Regions from separate parts of the Homo sapiens genome. Here region 2 is linked to region 1. The links are contacts of gene promoters, found by promoter capture Hi-C in blood cells and fetal thymus (Javierre and others, 2016). All regions are on one chromosome and are shown on one strand. Each heading gives the region's core, a stretch centred on a gene start or on the middle of the fragment in contact. The rest is flanking DNA. Distances are from core to core; before and after follow the strand shown.

Region 1 (3,474 bases), core at 699-3,198:
GGTGAGATCTCAGCTCACTGCAACCTCTGCCTCCTGGGTTCAAGCAATTCTCATGCCTCCACCTCCTGAGTAGGTGGGATTACAGGTATGAGCCATTACAGGCATGAGCCACCACACCTGGCTAATTTTTATATTTTTAGTACAGATGGGGTTTCACCATGTTGGTCAGGCTGGTCTCGAACTCCTGACCTCAGGTGATCCGCCCGCCTTAGCCTCCCAAAGTGCTGGGATTACAGGTGTGAGCCACCGCGCCTGGCCTGGCCAAAAAATATTTTTAAGAGAAGGTGTCTCCCTCTGTGGCCCAGGCTGGAGTGCAGTGTTGCCATCATAGCTCACTGCAGCCTCAACCTCCCAGGCTCAGGCAATCCTCCTGCCTCAGCCTCCAGTAGTTGGGACTACAGGGACAAGCCACTGCTTTATATATCCATAAATATATTTTATTTCCCTGTAATGTCCTCATCTCATTTATTTTTCCTTTTTTTTTTCTTGAGATGAGGTCTCACTCTGTTGCCAGGCTAGAGTGCAGCGGCATGATGGCTCACCGCAACCCCCGCCTCCCGAGTTCAAGTGATTCTCCTGCCTCAGCCTCCCGAGTAGATGGGATTACAGGCGCCCACCACCACGCCCAGCTAATGTTCTGTATTTTTAGTAGAGACGGGGTTTCACCGTGTTGGCCAGGATGGTCTCAATCTCCTGACCTGGTGATCCGCCCACCTCAGCCTCCCAAAGTGCTGGGATTACAGCCGTGAGCCACCGCGCCCAACCCTATCATCTATTTTCATTCCTTTTGTCAATACTGCTGGATTGGATGTACTAAATGTAAGGTCCTCTGAGCTGGCCGCACCATGGTCAAGCCATCGTGACATTCCCCCACCCTTGTGATAATGTACTTTGTAATATTCCCGGTCCTTGTGAATGTACTTTGTAACATTCCTCTCCGCCCTTGTGACAATACACCCTCCCCGCCCTTGTGAATGTACTTTGTAACATCCTCCCCTGCCCGCAAAAAATTGCTGCTGAGGCCGGGCGCGGTGGCTCACGCCCGTAATCCCAGCACTTTGGGAGGCCGAGGAGGGCGGATCACGAGGTCAGGAGATCAAGACCATCCTGGCTAACACAGTGAAACCCCGTCTCTACTAAAAATACAAAAAAATTAGCCGGGCGTGGTGGCGGGTGCCTGTAGTCCCAGCTACTCAGGAGGATGAGGCAGGAGAATGGCGTGAACCCGGGAGGCGGAGCTTGCAGTGAGCCGAGATCGCGCCACTGCACTCCAGCCTCGGCGACAGAGTGAGACTCTGTCTCAAAAAAAAAAAAAAAAAAAAAAATTGCTGCTGACTCCACCGCCTATCCTATCCCAAAGCTATAAGAACCAATGACAAGCCCACCACCCTCCGCTGACTCCTTTCTCAGACTCAGCCCACTTGCACCCAAGTGAATAAACAGGCGTGTTGCTCACACTTAGCCTGCTCAGGTGGTCTCCTATACGGACGCACGTAACACTAACATTTACCGATATTACTTACAGCTACGATGAAAAATGGAAAAGCAGCCGGACGCAGTGACTCATGCCTGTAATTCCAGCATTTTGGGAGGCTGGGGCAGGAGGATCATTTGAACCCAGGAGTCGGAGACCAGCCTGAGGCTGCAATGAGCGTTCATGGCACCACTGCACTCCCCACTGGGTGACAGAGCGAGACCCTGCCTCCAAAAAAAAAAAAAAAAAAAACAAGGAAAAGATGCAGACGCTTCCTCCTGGAGGCGCCTTTAGGTTCTCTCACAGACATGTTGGGCCAGCAGTGCTGGCTCCATCCTAGATTTCTTCCAGTCCTCCCCAGTTAGCCGCCAAGGGGCTTTTCCAACCGGAAACCTCCAATCCGCGACCCCGGCGGGTGCACCGCCGAGCCCCCCGGGAAGTGTAGTTCCAGCGCGAGCGGGACGCTGGGAAATGTAGTTCTGCGCGTTCACGTCCCCGATCGGGCCGTGTCCGCCGCGGCCCTGCGAGGTCCGAGGGGTAAGGGAGCGTGCAGCGGGGGCGGGACCACGAGGCGGCGGGGCTGGGGGCGGCCTCTGTGTCTGCGCCGGGGATCGCGGTGACCCCGCTGCGGACCGGCTCGCGGTGACCCCAGCGCGAACGAGCTGGCTGCCGGCTGGGGCGAGAAAGGCCTGCGGACCGGCCTGGGCGCATGCGCGGAAGGCGGGCCTCAGGCGGGGGCTCTGGGGGCGCGCGGGGGTGGGAGGCAGAGGGTGGGGTGGGGGCTGTAGGGCGGGCGGCGGCGGGGCGCTGAATGTGGGTGTCGGGGGAGATTTGGGGTCAGCTGGGCGATTCACTGGGGGCCTATGGAGGTCGCTGTAGACTTGGGGTGCAGCACGGGCGGGGCAAGGGGACGCGAGGTTGCCCTTGGCCCCAGGGGAGAGGGGCCCCTGGGAGGCCGTGTGGAGGATTTGTCTGCAGCGATTAGGACTCTGCTGATGAATGATTTGGATGCCTTTGGGTGAGCATTGGAGGCCAGCGGGGTGAATGATGAGGCTTCTGCGGGGGCCTGCGTTGGAGGGCTTAGGGGCTTGCTTGTGTGGGTTCCATTCACTGGAAAGCCTGCCGGCTGTGACAGTGTTGGATTTCACCAGAGCCCTGTGCTCCTGGAAAACAGCGAAGGTTGAGGAATTTCCCACCCTTTTGGGTTCCAGCAAATGGCTCACTGCAAAGATCTCCCGTTCCCTATATGACTTTGGTCAGCCTCCAGGATGCCCCTTGTTCACACAGACCTGCCACGTTGCCGTCGCTTGCCTCATCGGTGACTGGCTGAACTCCACCGAGCGGTCGGAGCAAAATGCTCCTTAAGCAAACTTTAGCTAAGCTTCTTTCCTTTCCCCATTTTCTTGAGCTTTGGCCCATCCCCAGCCTGAGCCAACACGCAGCCTCGCCTGAGAACAGGCTGGCTCAGGGTCAAGCTTTCCCCGCTCTGCTGTCTGGTCGCCCGCACTTCCACCTCGCTTGGCCAGGCCTGGTCTTTGCTAACCTTGTTCACACCTCTCTGTGAAAGAAAAACCCTTTTTGCCTTGCAGAGATGCACGTGAGTCTCGTGGCTTCACGGTTCTTCCCAGAAGCCCGTTCTCCTTCCCCTTCCCAACCCTCTTCCGCGTCTTTTTTTCCCCACTTCCAATAACCCTTTGGAACCGTCTTTCTTTGCTCTGTCCAGTTGTATGTTTTATTTGACAGCTGAATAACAGTGGTTGCTCTTTCAACCCCTGTCTCCAATAGCGGAGGCGAGTATGGGGTGGCCTATGCTGGCGAGTGGCTGGGGTTTGTTTCTGTGCTTGTGTTTGGGGATCTTATGATGGAAGCATTAGGAATGGCGCTGTGTATTTGTGACAAGGGAGTCTGGATGTAAGTTAATGGTGGACCTGTTGCAAGTTGTGAGTGCGTGGACAACGGGGGTCATACTTGGCGTCATTGGAGGGGCCTGCGGGATCGGC
Region 2 (3,474 bases), core at 302-2,801, 100 kb before region 1:
TGACTTCTCACCAAAGGCCTTCCCACATTCACTGCATTCATAGGGTTTCTCCCCTGTATGTGTCCTCTGATGTGATATGAGATGTGACTTCTGACAAAAGGCTTTCCCACATTCACTGCATACATATGGTTTTTCTCCTGTATGAATTCTTTGATGATTAGTGAGACTTAATTTTTCACTGAAAGCTTTCCCACACTCACTGCATTCATACGGTTTTTCTCCCGTATGAGTTCTCTGATGTCTAACGAGCTGTGATTTCCTGCTGAAGGCTTTCCCACATTTACTGCATATAAAGGGTTTTTCTCCTGTGTGTGTCATCTGATGTGATATGAGATGTGACTTCTGGGAGAAGGCCTTCCCACACTGAATGCATCCATGAGGTTTCTCTCCTGTATGTGTTCTCTGATGATTAATGAGACTCGACCTCTCTCTAAATGCTTTCCTACACTCGCTGCATTCATAGGGTTTCTCTCCAGTATGAATTGTCTGATGTCTAATAAGCTCTGACTTCTCAAAGAATGCTTTTCTACAATCACTACATCCAAAGGGTTTTGTTCCTGTGTGAGTTCTGTGATGTGTAACGAGTTGTGACTTCCTGCTGAAGGCTTTCCCACATTCCCTGCATTCAAAAGGCTTCTCACCGGTATGAATTCTCTGATGGTTAATGAGATTGGACTTTTCACTAAAGGCCCTCCCACATTCATTGCATCCATAGGGTTTCTCTCCTGTGTGTGTTCTCCAATGCGATATGAGATGTGACTTCCGGGAGAAGGCTTTCCCACATTCACCACACTCATAAGGTTTCTCTCCTGTATGTGTCCGCTGATGGGATGTGAGCTGTGACTTTTGGGAGAAGGCTTTCCCACACTGGCTACAATTATAAGGTTTTTCTCCTGTATGAGTTCTGTGATGTGTAATAAACTGAGACTTCTGGGGAAAGGTTTTGCCACAATTACCACAGCCAAAGGCTATGTCTCTTATATGTCTGCTCTGATGTTTAATGAGACTTGGTTTCTTACTGAAGCGCTTCCTACATTCACTGCATTCATAGAGTTTCTCCCCTAAACGATTTCTATGATATATGATAATCTGTGACTTTTTATAGCTCTCTTTATATTTATCACAGTCATAGTATTTTAACCAGGTATCAGTATCCTCAGGCTTGGAATGGAGAAAAAAATTATCAAACACATTAAAGTCATCTGATTCTGCTTTTCCATAATCTCCTTTTGGAATAAGCAAATCTAAATGATGTTTTAAAATCAATCCATCTAAGTCACCTTCACTGTTTGATTTCCTTAAAGGAACAAAGTTCATGTTCAGATTGAAATTTTTTCCAAATGCATCACATTCATGACCTCTTTTTATAATTTTAAGCTTGTCTTGGTTATCCTGGTGCCACATCATGTTACCATCTACTTTCCAGACTTCTATAAAGGAAACAAAAACAATCTGTTTGGTTGTGCTTTCTAAAAACAAAACAAAACAAAACAAAACTAGAAATGCTATGTTGAGGGGTTGGCTGCTTTTAAGGCTTAGTTTCCGAGTCTGAAATAAGTCCCAAGTATAATAACTATCTTCTAGGTATTGCAAGGAAATGCTAAAAACAGAAACAGGAAACTGACTGGAGATTAAGTCATCTTTGGTTGTTGACAAATATGTTTATTAAATGGGGAATATGAAAAACACATGAAAAGCAAAGAAAAAAGGTTAGAAGAAGCTTTGACCCAATGTTTTGAGTAATTAATTCACTCAATACTTTCTGAGTATACACTATGCCCAGGTAGTGTGTAAGGTACTAGAGACACAAGAGAAAAAATAAGTTCCTGTAGGCCAGGAGCGGTGGCTCACACCTGTAATCCCAGCACTTTGGGAGGCCGAGGCAGGCAGATCATGAGGTTGGGAGATCGAGACCATCCTGTCTAACATGGTGAAACCCCGTCTCTACTAAAAATACAAAAAATTAGCCGGGTGTGGTGGTGGGCGCCTGTAGTCCCAGCTACTCAGGAGGCTGAGGCAGGAGAACGGTGTGAACCCAGGAGGCGGAGATTGCAGTGAGCCGAGATCACGCCACTGCACTCCAGCCTGGGTAACAGAGCAAGACTCCATCTCAAAAAAATAAAAATAAAAAATAAAAAAATAAGTTCCTGTCATTATAAAATTTATATTGTAATGGAAAAGATAATATTTTTAAAACAACAAACTATACACTGTAGTAAATACTAAGAAGAAAATGAAAATATTTGAAAGAATGATTAGTCATTTCAAGCTTAAACAATGAGAAATATTTTGTGTATTGTTTCTTATTCTAAAGTTTTATTTAAACTTGCCATATGCATCTTCACATTACTATTAAGAAAGCCACTTAGATCCTCCCACCTTAACTGCCTGAGTAGTTGGGACAACAGGCATGCACCACCATGCCCAGATAATTTTTTTTTAATATTTTGTAAAGATGGGGATTCCCTATATTGTCCAGAATGGTCTTGAACTCCTGGCTTTATGCAGTCTTTCCACCTCAGCCTCCCAAAGTTCTGGGTTACAGGTGTGAGCCACTGCGCCGGGCCAATTTTGGTTTTTCATGGAGGACTTTTAGCAGGTCTCAAAAGTTTTCTTCTAATAGTTTTCTTGGTGTTCTATCATTCATAGGTGTTGAATTTATCAAACTTTTTCTATTTCAATTATTACATTTTTACTTTGTTCAAGTAATATTGTATCATATTAAACAAACATTGCATTGTGAAAAATACCCTGCTTAGTCATGGTATGTAATCATTCTTATACCTTTTTGTATTCTTTTTTTAAATATTTCTGAGAATTTCTGTGTCTAAATTTAAATAGGATGTTGTTTCATAGTCATCTTGTGATTCTTTTGTCTCCTTTGGGTATTATGGTATTACTGGCTAACAGATGAATTAAGAAATATTACCTCTTCTACTGCTTGAAGTTTTTGTGAGAAATTGATGTTTTTCATTAAGTGTTGATGAAATGTACAACTTAAGCAGTTTATAACAACTATTCTATCTAAAAAGATTTAATTTTTTTGTTATGTGGATATAAGTATATTCTATTATATATATAATGAAACAATTCATAGGATGTTTTTTGAGTTTACTTTTGTAATCCATCTCTATCAGTATTTTCTATTTCACAGTATGTCATGAACAATTATTCTAGGCACTTGACATGGAATAATTTGAACAAATAGAGAATGAGTCCTATACTACAATCAATAAATAACTCAAAATTTTCTCCATTTTTAGGATGAAGAATATGAATATAGTTCTGTTACATAATATTTGTGTTTACTGTGTGAGACAAATGAGTTACTGAATGTAAAAATAATTAGTAAAACTGCCCTTTGATTTTGGAATTCATGAAGCAGGCAAATGCCCTACCTTCTATTTTTATCAATATTTAGATAAGGCAGAAAAATAAATTTTAATAAGATACACAGAATAATCTTGTATTTGA

Evidence for each region. The method cuts DNA at HindIII sites, captures the fragments that hold promoters and counts their contacts. A CHiCAGO score of 5 or more calls a contact.
Region 2: a fragment that was not itself captured here is called in contact with the fragment with the promoter of ZNF605 in region 1 in 1 of 17 cell types (megakaryocytes); the score reaches 6.3 in megakaryocytes.

What each region holds. Positions count from the first base shown.
Region 1 is chr12:132,954,780-132,958,253 of GRCh38, reverse strand. It overlaps ZNF605 (zinc finger protein 605), which reads left to right and starts at 1,948. Exons shown (of 5, transcript NM_183238.4): 1 at 1,948-2,011. It overlaps LOC124903064 (a long non-coding RNA gene), which reads right to left and starts at 1,705. Exons shown (of 2, transcript XR_007063552.1): 1 at 1,524-1,705. RefSeq lists enhancers at 1,738-1,817, 1,571-2,399, 2,677-2,971, 2,400-3,230 and a silencer at 1,978-2,317. The HindIII fragment of the contact is 12,358 bases long and covers 1-2,857 here.
Region 2 is chr12:133,054,910-133,058,383 of GRCh38, reverse strand. It overlaps ZNF84 (zinc finger protein 84), which reads right to left. Exons shown (of 5, transcript NM_001289971.2): 5 at 1-1,430. Among named protein-coding and RNA genes, the nearest start is that of ZNF84, 19 kb to the right of the region's middle. The HindIII fragment of the contact is 343 bases long and covers 1,380-1,722 here.